Regions from separate parts of the Homo sapiens genome. Here regions 1 and 2 are each linked to region 3. Evidence: promoter capture Hi-C in 16 types of primary human blood cells and fetal thymus (Javierre and others, 2016). All regions are on one chromosome and are shown on one strand. Each heading gives the region's core, a stretch centred on a gene start or on the middle of the fragment in contact. The rest is flanking DNA. Distances are from core to core; before and after follow the strand shown. Region 1 has its middle 15 kb from the start of OR7A17. Region 2 overlaps SLC1A6 (solute carrier family 1 member 6). Region 3 holds the start of OR10H1 (olfactory receptor family 10 subfamily H member 1).

Region 1 (4,278 bases), core at 512-3,011, 910 kb after region 3:
CCTCCATACGTGCAATCTCATCAGCTCAGGGGAAGTACAAGGCATTTTCCACCTGTGCATCGCACCTCTCAGTTGTCTCCTTATTTTATTGTATGAGCCTTGGGGTGTACCTTAGTGCTGCTGCAACCCACAACTCACTCTCAAGTGCAACAGCCTCTGATGTACACTGTGGTCACCCCCATGCTGAACCCCTTCATCTACAGTCTGAGGAATAAAGACATAAAGGGGGCTCTAAAACAATTCTTCAGAAGGAAGAAATAAAATGAGCATCTTTCAAGAAGTACATGTGATTTCAAAGCTCTAACCGAACTCAAACATTGTGATTCACGAATCAGATCATGGAAGGAGGGAAAGAGAATGTTCTGCTTCTATTCAGTTTCTAGAGTTTTAATTTCCTTGTTCTCAAGTGCTGTGTCAGACTTATGCTATTTCTTTAGAAAGCTTTCTGCTCTGATATCCAACTTACTTTTTGTTTGTCATTTTCCTAATTTCCCATAGTTATTTCCAAACTAGGGTAAAACACTTTTGGAGATTCCTATTTGTCTAATACACTAGAGAGTTGTATCAGTCCTAAAAAATCAATTGCACTTGGCAAATGTAAGGTCATTGGTATAATCATATTATAGATGAATATCTGAGATCACAGTTTTTTACTTCTGAGTCCTTCATTTCTTACTACCTTTACTGTTCTTCCTGATTATGTAAACTTGACCATGCTGGTGTGTTTATAATCATCATGGCATTTTATTCTCCTCATTAGGATCCTGTCTGCTATCCAGCTCAGTGTCTACACTGCCTACTATATTCCCTGGTAAAGAGGAGGAAGGCGAATATTACTTATAACATACATGTTCCTAGTGTAGTCTACACAGAAAGACACATTTGCATGAATCAATTGACTTCATATGGCCTCAGATTCAGAGACGACCTTAAATATGATGGACTAAAATTTTCAGTCATGCAGTGATTATCGTGGAAGATTTGTTTTTGATGGTGTGTGATATGGTTTGTCTGTGTCTCCACCCAAATCTCACCTTGATTGTAGCTCCCATAATTTCCTTGTGTCATGGGAGGGACCCGGTGGGAGGTAATTGAATCATTGGGGCAGGTCTTTCCCATGCTGTTCACATGGCAGTGAATAAGTCTCATGAGATCTGATGGTTTTATAAAGGGGAGTTCCCCTGCATATGCTCTCTTGCCCGCCGCCATGCAAGACATGCCTTTGGCCTTCTGCTGTGATTGTGAGGCCTCCCCAGCCACGTGGAACTGTGAGTCCATTAAACTTCTTTTTCTTTATAAATTACCCAGTCTTGGGTATGTCTTTATCAGCAGTGTGAAAACGGACTAATACAACTCATTAAAGGGTGGAAGCTTGTTGTCCATGGGTAATGAGGTTTGTTCATTTAGGTAAAGGATTTGGTGTCATGATCTACATTATTTGATTGCATCATCTTTCTGTTTCTGATTAAAAGTTTCCAGTGCTACAAATATGACTTCTTGCATTGTTCTAAAACTATCACTCCCTTTAATAAATTATGTCACAAGCATTAAACTGGAGGTAAGTGAAGGATATGTGTATTTACTGTATCATCACTTGCTTTATCTCTTTTATACTCCAAACTCTCTAATGATGACTCACATAAGAGCTTGAATTTCTTCCCAGTATTGCATGTGAGATTAGAGACTTGAGATTCCAGGTTGCAATTTGTTTCAGCAAAAATATACATGTCCTGCCAAACTCTTCTGGTTACCTAGAGGAAATCTAAAAGTAGTCATCCTATGATACAGTTATGTGAAGTAAATATAAATATCCATATAATTATGAACACTGCTTTCTGATATCAGAAAAAGCACCAAAAAAAAAGAGCCAACAGAATATTCTGTATACAGTGAATCCAATAAAAAACTAAAAAACAAAAGGATCTGACACCTAAAAAAAGATAATTCTGAATATCTTTAGTTATGTTGCTTTGATTATTGTATCAGTAATCTAATGTTGTGTAACAAAACATCCCAATAATAAATGATTTAAAGTCATGCTTTTAAAAAATCACATCAGAGTCTACATTGTGGAAGTTTTCTCATTGGGGATTAGGACATATATATCCTGGACAAGACAAAAATATTCAGCCATAGGACTATCCAAGCTTAATTAGCTCTTGAATGTTGGGCAGTAAGGACAATCTTTTTTTAACTTTTATTTTAGGTTCAGGGGTACATGTGCAGGTTTGCTATATAAGCCAACTGTTTGTTGTGAGGGTTTGGTGTACAGAGTATTTTGTCACCCGCTTAATAAGCATACCTGATACATAGTTTTTTTTATCCTAACCCTCCTACCACCCTCAACACTCAAGGAGGCCCCAGTATCTGTTGTTCCCCTCTTTGTGTCCATGTGTTCTCATTATTTAGCTCCCACTTGTAAATGAGAATATGTGGTATTTGGTTTTCTGTTCCTACGTTAGTTTGCTAAGAATTATGGCCTCCAGCTCCAACCACGTTGTTGCAAAGGACACAGTCTCATTCTTTTTGATGACTCTGTAGTATTCTATGTTGTATAGTACCACATCTTCTTTATTCGGTCTACTATTGATGGACATTCAGGTTGATTCCATGTCTTTGCTATTGTGAATAGTGCTGTGATGAACATATGTATGCATATGTCTTTATAGTAGAATGATTTACATTCCTTTGGGTATATATCCAATAATAGAATTTCTGAGTGAAGTGGTAATCCTGTTTTAAGGTCTTTGAGAACTGTGAAACTGCTTTCCACAATGGCTGAACTAATCTACATTCCCAAAAGCAGTGTGGAAGTATTTCCTTTTCTCCAGACTCTCACCAGCATTTGTTATTATTGGACTTTTAAATAATAGAGCAAGGACAATTTGAAAGAGGAAGAGCAACAGAAGTGGTGTCATCTCACAATGCCTCTTACAGCTTCTTCTCACAGATTGAACATCTCATGACCACTCACATCCTATCAGACAAAGAATGTCTCAATCATCGTAGGTGTTACACTTCTCCCAGTTGAGGCATCATCAAAATCCAGAGCCAAAGGTGGAGAAGACTGATCCTCCTAAAGGCAACATAGAAAGGCAACACAAAAATACAGAAAGAGGTGTCTAATTATCTAAGAGTTAATAAATAAGTGGAAAATAATTATCTACTGGGAGAAAAACAGACATGCAAGCATTTTATACTTCAGTATACATTAAATATGTATGAATTACATGCTATCACCTAGAAGCCAGGAAGATAAGATTTCCATGAAGAGTTGGAGGAGCTCCTAGAAGATTAGGTGGATAATTTGATACACTAAGAAACATCAGCTTTACAGATATTCTCAAAAGTAGAAGATAGTTAAAGAGTCAGACATATCTACTGTGAGTATTTGGAGCCAGCATGAGGGTGACAGAGACAATGATGAATGATTTTATGTCAACAAAGCATAGAATGATAGACTCTCAGGCACTCTCCTCCTTGTGCAGGGCCCTGGAAGGAGGTCTCCCTTCATGATCACAACTTGCTGTCTCCTCAAAGCAGGACAGTGCTAGACTGTAGCAAGAAACCTTTCTGGTGTCACAATGAGCAGAGTAACTGGGAAACTAGGACATGGTCCAAATATCTGCTATCCATTGAACACCTGCTCTGCGCCAAGTAACTTCCAATGGGCTTTGAAGTCTTACTCCTTCTCACCTAAACTTCATAAGGTAAGTGGAACTTCTAGAAGTTTCATTTCCTGTCATTCCGTAAGTGTTCAAGACTTACGCGTAAGTAAACTCGATTATGCAAAAGCTGAGCTACCGAGTCCAACATTTGACCTCCTAAACCAGACATGAGGAGCAGGGTAGGATTCTTGGTAGAAAAAGCCTCAAAATATGTATACCTGCCTTTAACACTGACCACAGCCTCGATCCCCAAAGAGTGTTCCGCAGAACAGGATGAATAGCATCAACACCAACAGGAAAACTGTCAAAAGTATAAAATGTTGGGACCAGTCCTAGATGTCTGAAATTAGAATCGACATTTGAACAAGAACCCTAGGTGATTCATATATACAGTGAAATTAGGGAAGTTCTGGACTGGAATAGTCTCAGCCTCCCCAGTGTCCACATTTGTTTGCATTAATTCTTTCTGCTGTGGGCTGTCCTGTGCATTGTAGGTTGTTGGGCAGCTTCCCCGGCTTCAATCTACAATGTGCCAGTAAGTAGCACTTCCCCACATGTGACAACCAAAAGTGTATCCAAACATTTCCTAATATTCCTGGAGCACAAACAC
Region 2 (4,190 bases), core at 736-3,235, 860 kb after region 3:
GTAAATTTATTTACAAACTCATCCATGCATTAGTTAAATCATTGATGGATTCATCTGTTTATTTACTCAGTTAAGTCATTTATTCATTCTAATTCATTCTTGGACTCACTCATTCATCTATGCATTTGTTATTCTTTCATTCATTTATTCAAGTATTCTCTTCATTCACTCATTTGTTCACGTATTTGTTCACTCAGCTACTAACTTGTTTCATTTGCTTATTTCCTTACTTATTCATCCAGTTGTTAATCCCTTCCTTCCTTCCTTCCTTCCATCATTCCTTCTCTAGATTCCTTTATTACTTCAGAAATATCTTTATTCACTCAGCAGGCATTTTCCCAGGCAGACTTTGTCTTGACCTCTGGAGTACAGAGATACAGTGCACTCATACCTTGTCCTCAACAAGCTCACAAAATCTTAGGGGAGACAGACACATTGTAGATCAATATAACACAAGGTGGTAGGTTCTGTAGTAAAGGAACATTTAAAAAATGTTGGGAACTTGGAGAAGGAAGCAGTGAGTAGAGGGGTACGCAGTGAATGCTTCCTGAAGAGGGAGTCATGAAGAAGGTCACCTGTTAACTGCGTCTTGACAGGTGAGTAGGACTTCAACTGGACAGTGAGAGGGGAGACGTATTTCAGGCAGAGAGAAGAGAACATGCAAAGCTTGAAGGTACCTAAGTTGTTTGGAGAATGGTGGGGCATTCAGGAAGGTGAGAGCATGGGGTAAGTTGGGAGTGGTGGTGGAAGATATTAACAAGGCTGTCAGATCCCAAATGGGAGAAGACTTTGTACATCATCCCAAACAATTGGAAAGTTGTATAGTGTCATATGTAAAATGTTTATTTAGAAACAGAATGCTTGTTCCCCAGTGCCATAAAGAAATAGCACTCAAACATAAATTTAATTATCTCAGCAAGGCAATTTTTACTTCTGCAGAAAGGGTGTTCATCACAGATGGAACAATGGCAAGAGCACACCTGAACAAAGGAGGGAAGAAGCAATTTTTATCCCTTATGCAGTTTGTCCCTGCTACTGTGTCTGTCTCCATTGGCTGGAGCCAGACTTTACAATCTAAACTAAATCCCGACTGGCTAATAATTTAAAACTTTTCTAAATAGGTAAAAGCAATGGAAAACAGAGGAAAAGAGGAAGTTGCTTACAAAAGGACTTAGAAAAGTAATAACATTCCCAAATAAGGAAGGGGTATAGGCTGCAAGCTGGGACATGCCTGTGAGCACATCCAGCACAGATATCTTGGTTAAAGTACAAGGACGTAGAATGTACTATGTGCCTGTGAGCGTGTCTAACACCTACATAGGATAGGGCTTAACAAAGAGTTATTAGCATAAAGTAAGGAGGCTTGAAGGAAGTTAGTCTTTAAAAGAAACTATTTTTAACACTTAAGATTTATTCTTTAACAAGAAGGGAAACTTTGAAGACGAACTTTTACTTTCTTCATATAAGGAACTTGAGGCCAAGTTGAGGGCCTGGAAAAGCATCTGAAAGGAATGGGAGTGGGGAGCTTATTAAGGATAAGCAGAGAGTTAACAAGGAATAATGAAGGCTCAGCTGAATTGGGAACAATGAATTTATAGCAGTGTCATTGGCATGATTGGGTGAAATGTCCAGATGTGCCAGGTGGCTGAGTGTAGGGGGTAAGAAATCATGCACAATTAATCTTGGGCTGAGGAATTTTGCAGGGGATGAGGTGGAAGGATGGAGGTGAGGAAGTTGAGAGAGGGATTACTCAGAGTAAGCATAGAGGTGGATCTAGTCATGTTGACTTGGAGAAGACTCAGCAACTACTCCCCAGGGCTAACTCTGAGCCCAGTTTGGAGAACACAGATGTGACTGGAGAAGCCCCGTGCATCCTCATTTTTGACTCAAGCTATTGTACCACCTTCCCAAGAGGTCCCCACCTCCTCCAACACATCCACGATGAATGTGAGCCAAAGTAGATTTCAAATTTTTTTTTTTTTTTGAGATGCAGTCTGGCTCTGTCGCCCAAGCTGGAGTGCAGTGATGTGATCTCAGCTCACTGCAACCTCTGCCTCCTGGGTTCAAGTGATTCTTCTGCCTCAGCCTCCCGAGTAGCTGGGACTACAGGTGTGCACTACCACACCTGACTAATTTTTTTATTTTTAATAGAGATGGGATTTCACCATGTTGGCCAGGCTGGTCTCGAACTCCTGACCTCAAGTGATCTGCCCTCCTCGGCCTCCCAAAGTGCTGGGATTACAGGCATGAGCCACCATGCCCAGCCATAAACTTCAATTTCTAAAGAAAGAGGAGTAGCCATTGAAGCCTCGAAATGAGATGATGGTGCCAATGGCAGAAACTCACTCGATTGACCCGTGGGCTGGATTATGGGGGGAAACAGGTGAGCCCCTGATGAACTTGCTTCTTTCATCTTCTCTATTCTCCTTTTTACTCAATACTCCAGCCACATTGGTCTTCTCTCTGGTCCTCCAGCACTCCTAGTGCATGCCCATCTCAGAGTCTGCATTGTGCCTGCAATGATTTCTTCCAGATACACAGGGTACCTTCTCATCATGCAAGTCTCAGCTTAAATGTCACCTCTTCAGAAAAGCCCTCTCTGACCATCTGCTCAGAAGCAGTCCCATCCAGTGACTCTCCTTTGCTGTTATCACCACTTGAAGTTTGCAATTAGTGCATTTCTATGTGTACCTCCTGCTTTCCCCATTAGAATGTGTCTTAGTTCATGTCAGCTGCTGTAACAAAAATACCATAGACATTGTGGCTTAAAGAACAAAAATGTATTTCGCACAGCTCTGGAGGGTGGGAAGTCTAAGTTCAAGGCACCCACAGATTCCATGTCTGGTGAGGGCTGTCTTCTGGTTCATGGAAGGCGTCTTCTTGCTGTGTCTTCGAATGACAGAAGGGTGGAGGGAGCTCTCTGGTGTGTCTTTTATATGGGCACTAATTCCATTCATGATGGCTCTACCCTCATGACCTAATCACCTCCCAATACTATCCCATTGGGGGTTAGGATCTCAAGATATGAATTTGGTTGGAGTGGGGAGGGGACATAAACATTTAGTCCATAACAGAATGTAAGTGCTTTGAGGACGAGAGCCATGTGCCTGGTACTCAGTAGGTACTCAGTCAATATCTGTGGAATGAATGAATACATCGGTGATTTTGATAGGACAAGTGGTTTGAGAGGGAAATGCTTAGGCTGGTGAATGAGTGATAACAGGCACTGATAGGGAAGAGAATAGGGGCATACACATTTCAAATGTGGAACAAACAGTTGGGGGCAGAAGATAAGGGAAGCTTAGAAGGCCAGAGACAGGGAATGTCTTGGCAATGTCTAAGGAAGGAAACTGAAGGTAGTGATTATTTGGGGCAGGATTGAGAGAGCTTGAATGGGGAGTAGGTACAGGAGAGACCTGAAAGCTTGTATATCCTGGAGTTGTAGGAACTTTTCTACCATGGTGGGGAGATGTGGAAGAGCAGGAGGAGGAGGAGGTGGGCTTCATTCATGGGGCCCGGTGGCATTCATTAGTGTACGGGGAAGACTGGGATGGAGTAGGGTGCCGTATCATGGGTATTGTGTGGCTCCAGGGCCCTATATGGGCAAAGCCTTGGGGATGCCACCTTCAGACCTGCAAGGGAGGTCAGGAGGGAGCCCTGACAGGTATGTGGCTCCCTCACACAGGTATGCACCTGTGGGCATCCTGTTCCTGATTGCTGGGAAGATTCTGGAGATGGAAGACATGGCCGTCCTGGGGGGTCAGCTGGGCATGTACACCCTGACCGTCATCGTGGGCCTGTTCCTCCATGCCGGCATTGTCCTTCCCCTCATCTACTTCCTCGTCACTCACCGGAACCCCTTCCCCTTCATTGGGGGCATGCTACAAGCCCTCATCACCGCTATGGGCACGTCTTCCAGGTATGGCCTTGCTCCCCACCCCAGCACCATTCCTGGTTGCACTTCTTGTCCTTCATGTCCTCTCCTAAGGCACCTGCCCTCTCCATTCCTTAAACACCTCTTCTGAGTCGTCCAACAATGTCCAGGGCTCATAATGTCAACACCTGGGGTCCAGTCATTGTCCTGGGCTGGCTCTCCTGGTCTCCTTTTCTCCTTTCCTGTTTTTTAACTTTCTGTGGAGGAGAACCAGGTACCAGTTTTGAGGTTAAGAGGGAAGGTTCCAGGATGCCCC
Region 3 (4,301 bases), core at 612-3,111:
AATTAAAAGCCTAGCTCCTTTCACATAGCACATGTTTTCAACGTTCATCTCTACTGTGGCCTGGACTGGGATGTTATTCCTTTCTGTGGCTGAATAATAGCCATTATATGATTATACCACACTTTGTTTATCCATTTATTTATTAATAGACATTTGGATCTGCCATTGATAGACGTTTGGATCAGGCCATGTCCAGTGGCTCACACCTGCAATCCAAGCACTTTGGGAGGTCAAGGCAGGAGAATCGCTTAAGCCCAGGAGTTCCAAGAGCAGCCTGAGAAACAAAGTGAAATCCTACTCTCTACAGAAAAATTAAAAAATACCGTTTGGCTACTGTGAACAGTGCTGCTATGCACATTTGATGTCCAAGGATTTGTTTGAATCCTTTTCCATTCTTTTGGGTGTATACCTAGGAGTGAAATTGCTGAGTCCTTTGATAATTTCTATGTTAACTTTTTGATAAACTGTCAAACCATTTTGTGTGTTTTTAAAATGCAGATCTGATTCTCCCGTAGATATCTTTCCGTAACTTGGTTTTTCACTCAGCGTCTTAGAGTGAACTCTGTGTGAGTTTATGCAGACCAAAGTTTCTCAGTCTTGGCAATGTCGACATTTTTGTGTTGACAAAATGGCTGGAGTGCCGTGGCTACTCACAGGGGCAATCATAATGCATCGTTATATATAGTAGTATATAGTCCCATTTATATGAAATGTCTAGAATAGGTAAGTCCATAGAGCCAGAGCCAGAAAACAAATTGGTGGTTTTGAAGGACTGGGTGGGGTAGGGGAGTGGCTGCTAATGGGTATTAGGTGATGAAAACATTTTGGAACTAGACAGAGGCGGCGGCCACACAACATTGTGAATGCATTCAATCCCAGGGAATTGTATACTTTAAAGTGGTTGATTATTTTATGTGAATTTCACCTCAAAAGCAGAACGAAGCGAAAGCAACAATAATGCACAACAGAACTCTGATTTTATGGGTTTGCATTGTTTTCACATCCTACATGCTCATGAAGATCTGAAGGGATACCCATTAAATTCACCGTCACGATTGCCTGGCTGGCCATTGCATGGTTTGCTGCTTTGTATGTAGCATTTCAATTACATAATAAGAAGAAACAGGCCAGGCATGGTGGCTCACAGCTGTAATCCCAGCACTTTGAGAGGTCAAGGTGGGAGGATCCCTTGAGCCAAGGAGCTCAAGACCAGCCTGGGCAACAAAGCGAGACCCCATCTCTACAGAAAAATTAAAACTTAGCCCAGGTGTGGTGGCAAGCACCTTTACTCCCAGCTGCTCAGGAGGCTGAGGCAGGAGAATCATTTGAGCCTGGGAGGTTGAGGCTGCAGTGAGCCATAATCACACCACTGCACTCCAGCCTGGGCAACAGAGCTAGACCCTGTCTCAAAAAATAAAAATAAAAACAAATACGTGTGTGTGTGTTGGTTTTAAAAAATTATTTTAAAGGACATTTAGTTGGGCAAATGACCCAGTTGGAGAAGAATGAAGGTGACGGGGCATATCAAGGCAGCCTCTGCAGTCCCTGGGGGCAATGGCAGGGCTGCCCTCCTGTCAATTTCAACAGTCATGGGCCCAAACCCCAAATCTGTAGAGCACTAGACTCTGCTCAAGCTCTTGACAAGCTCAGGGAATTGACTCACCCCTGGCAGGCGGGGGGAATGGGAAAGTGAGGATACAGATTCCCTGAGGTTGCCTCCTCTCTGGCAGGGTCCCTGGGGTCCCAGCATCCCTGTAGCGGAGACAGAGACAGTAGGACCACAGCGAGGGAAGCCGGTGGGCAGGGAGTCAGGGAGGGATAAATAATCGCATTTGGGCTCAGTCAAGCCCCCGGCTCAGCTGGTGTGGCTGCTTGGTGCAGCCCACACCTGGTCAGCTCCCACCTGTGGAGAAACTCCAAACTAGAGCCTCCTACTGGGATGAAGCAGAAGCAGATGCCTGGAGTCCCAGGTGAGTCACCTCCCCTCTCAGCCACCTGACCAGGAGAGACCTGGGGAACCAGCACCTGCCAGGGACTCCAAGAAACCACCTGTTTATATTACTCCTTTAGCAATGTGAGTCTACAGGGCAGTGGGTGACAGGCAGAGGCCACTCACCACGTCTTAGTCAGTGTGCTGTTTGCTTAGCAGGACTTACCTTCTTCTATTTTTTTTTTTTTTTTTTTGAGACGGAATCTCGCTCTGTAGCCCAGGCTGGAGTGCAGTGGCGCAATCTCGGCTCACTGCAACCTCCGCCTGCCAGGTTCAAGCGATTCTTCTCCCTCAGCCTCCTGAGTAGCTGGGACTACAGGTGCGTGCCACCATGCCTGGCTAATTTTTTGTATTTTTAGTAGAGACAGGGGTTTCACCATGCTGGACAGGCTGGTCTTGAACTCCTGATCTCGTGATCCACCCGCCTCGGCTTCCCAAAGTACTGGGATTACAGGCATGAGCCATCGTGCCCAGCCAGGACTTGCCTTCTTTAGAGCTCCTGCTGCCTCATGAGGTAGGTCCCTTGGATGGGGGAGGTAACAGGTGCAGAGAGAAGACAGCCAATGCTCAATGTGACCCAAGGTGATGGTTTGATTTTAACCTCTCTTCTCGGTCTGTCCAGGCAAGAAGTCTACGGAAAAAGGATTGGGAAGAGGCGGAGAAAAGAGAGAAAGAGGATTCAGGGTTCAGAAGCTCCAGCCACCACCCCAGGGTGTAAAGAATCAGGGTGGGCCGGGTGCAGTGGCTCATGCCTGCAATCCCAGCACTTTGGGAGGCCAAGGTGGGAGGATCACTTGAGTCCAAGAGTTTGAGGCCAGCCTGGGCAGCATAGTGAGACCCTGTCTGTACAAAAAAATACAAAAATTGGCCAGGAATGGCAGGCACCTGTAGCTACTCCAGAGATTGAGGTGGGAGGATTGCTTGAGCCCAGGAAGTTAAGGCTGCAGTGAGCTGTGATTGTGCCTCTGCACTCCAGCCTGGGTGACAGAGGGATACCCTGTCTCTCTCTCTCTCTCTCTCTCTCTCTCTCTCTCTCTCTCTCTCTCTCTCTCTCACACACACACACACACACACACACACACACACACAAGGGAGGCGTCAATGGGAGCAGGTGGTGAGGGAATGGTTAGGAGCTGGGGATGAGAAGATGGAGAGAAAAGAGAGGGAAGTGGTGGCTTAAGTGGAAGAGAGGGGAGGCCAGACAGCTTCACTAAGAAGAGAGAGCCAGGATGGGTGAGAGTTAAGGCCAGATGGGGTCTCAGAGACAAGACAGGCCTGGCCCATGGAGTGATGCTGTCACCCAGGAGACACGTGACAACGTATAAGGACATTTCTGATTGTCGTGACTGGGGAGTGCTGCTGGTATCTATCTGGTGGGTGGAGACCAAGAATGCTGCTCAGTCTCCTGCAGTGCACAGGACACCCCTCTGAGAGAGAATGATTCGCCCCTAGCGTCCCTAATGCTGAAGGCAGGAAACCCTGCTCTAGGGATGTCTGTGGCAGGACTTGTCCACAGCCACGCTTAGCCCTAGAGTCTCTGAGTGGAGAACTGGCCCCACCGGGTGTTCCTGTCAGTGCTAGACAGTGGGCTTGCTTGCTCTCTCTCTTTCTTCTCACCTTTTTCTTCTCTTTCCCCTCTGTCCTCTCTTTCTCCCTACCTCTCTTTCCTCTCTCTGTTTCTCTTCCCACCTCCCTCTCTCTCCACTTCTCTCTCTCTCCCCACCCTTCTCTCTGTCTCTCTCTCTCTTTCCCCAACCCTCTCTCTCCCCACCTCCCACACTCTCTGTGTCTCTCTCCCCACTTCTCTCTCCCCACCTCTCTCTGTGTCTTTCTCCCTGTCCTTCTCTCTCTCTCTCCCCCCACCTCCCACTCTCTATCTCCCCACTTCTCTCTCTCCCTCCATCTCTCTCTCTCTCTGTGTGTGCTCTTTCCCCACATCTCTCTGTGTCTCCACCTCTCTGTCTCTCTCTTTCTCTCTCCCCACCTCTCTTTCTTTCTCTCCCCACCTCTCTCTCTCTGTTTCTCCCTCGCCTCCTCTCTCTCTCTCTCTCTCTCTCTCTTCCCCTGCCTCTCTCTCTATCCCCATCTCTCTCTTTCTCTTCCTACCTTTCTCTCTCTCTGTTTTACCTACAGAGGAACCCACTGGATGTTCTGCTGGTGAATCAATGCCCAGAAGCTCTAAATCCTCCTCGCTGCTATCCTAGTCCCACATCCACCATGGGTTTGGTTTTGTTTTACTTTTTAAAATTAATAGACTTTATTTTAAGAGCAGTTTCAGATTTACAGAACATAGAGCAGATAGATACTGCAG

What was found. The method cuts DNA at HindIII sites, captures the fragments that hold promoters and counts their contacts. A CHiCAGO score of 5 or more calls a contact.
Region 1: a fragment that was not itself captured here is called in contact with the fragment with the promoter of OR10H1 in region 3 in 1 of 17 cell types (M1 macrophages); the score reaches 5.0 in M1 macrophages.
Region 2: a fragment that was not itself captured here is called in contact with the fragment with the promoter of OR10H1 in region 3 in 1 of 17 cell types (M1 macrophages); the score reaches 5.8 in M1 macrophages.

What each region holds. Positions count from the first base shown.
Region 1 is chr19:14,899,229-14,903,506 of GRCh38, reverse strand. It overlaps the pseudogene OR7A3P. Among named protein-coding and RNA genes, the nearest start is that of OR7A17, 15 kb to the right of the region's middle. The HindIII fragment of the contact is 776 bases long and covers 1,374-2,149 here.
Region 2 is chr19:14,956,205-14,960,394 of GRCh38, reverse strand. SLC1A6 (solute carrier family 1 member 6) reads left to right here. Exons shown (of 10, transcript NM_005071.3): 7 at 3,686-3,919. Among named protein-coding and RNA genes, the nearest start is that of OR7C2, 17 kb to the right of the region's middle. The HindIII fragment of the contact is 2,634 bases long and covers 669-3,302 here.
Region 3 is chr19:15,813,224-15,817,524 of GRCh38, reverse strand. OR10H1 (olfactory receptor family 10 subfamily H member 1) reads left to right here and starts at 1,861. Exons shown (of 4, transcript NM_013940.4): 1 at 1,861-1,970. The HindIII fragment of the contact is 16,264 bases long and covers 1-4,301 here.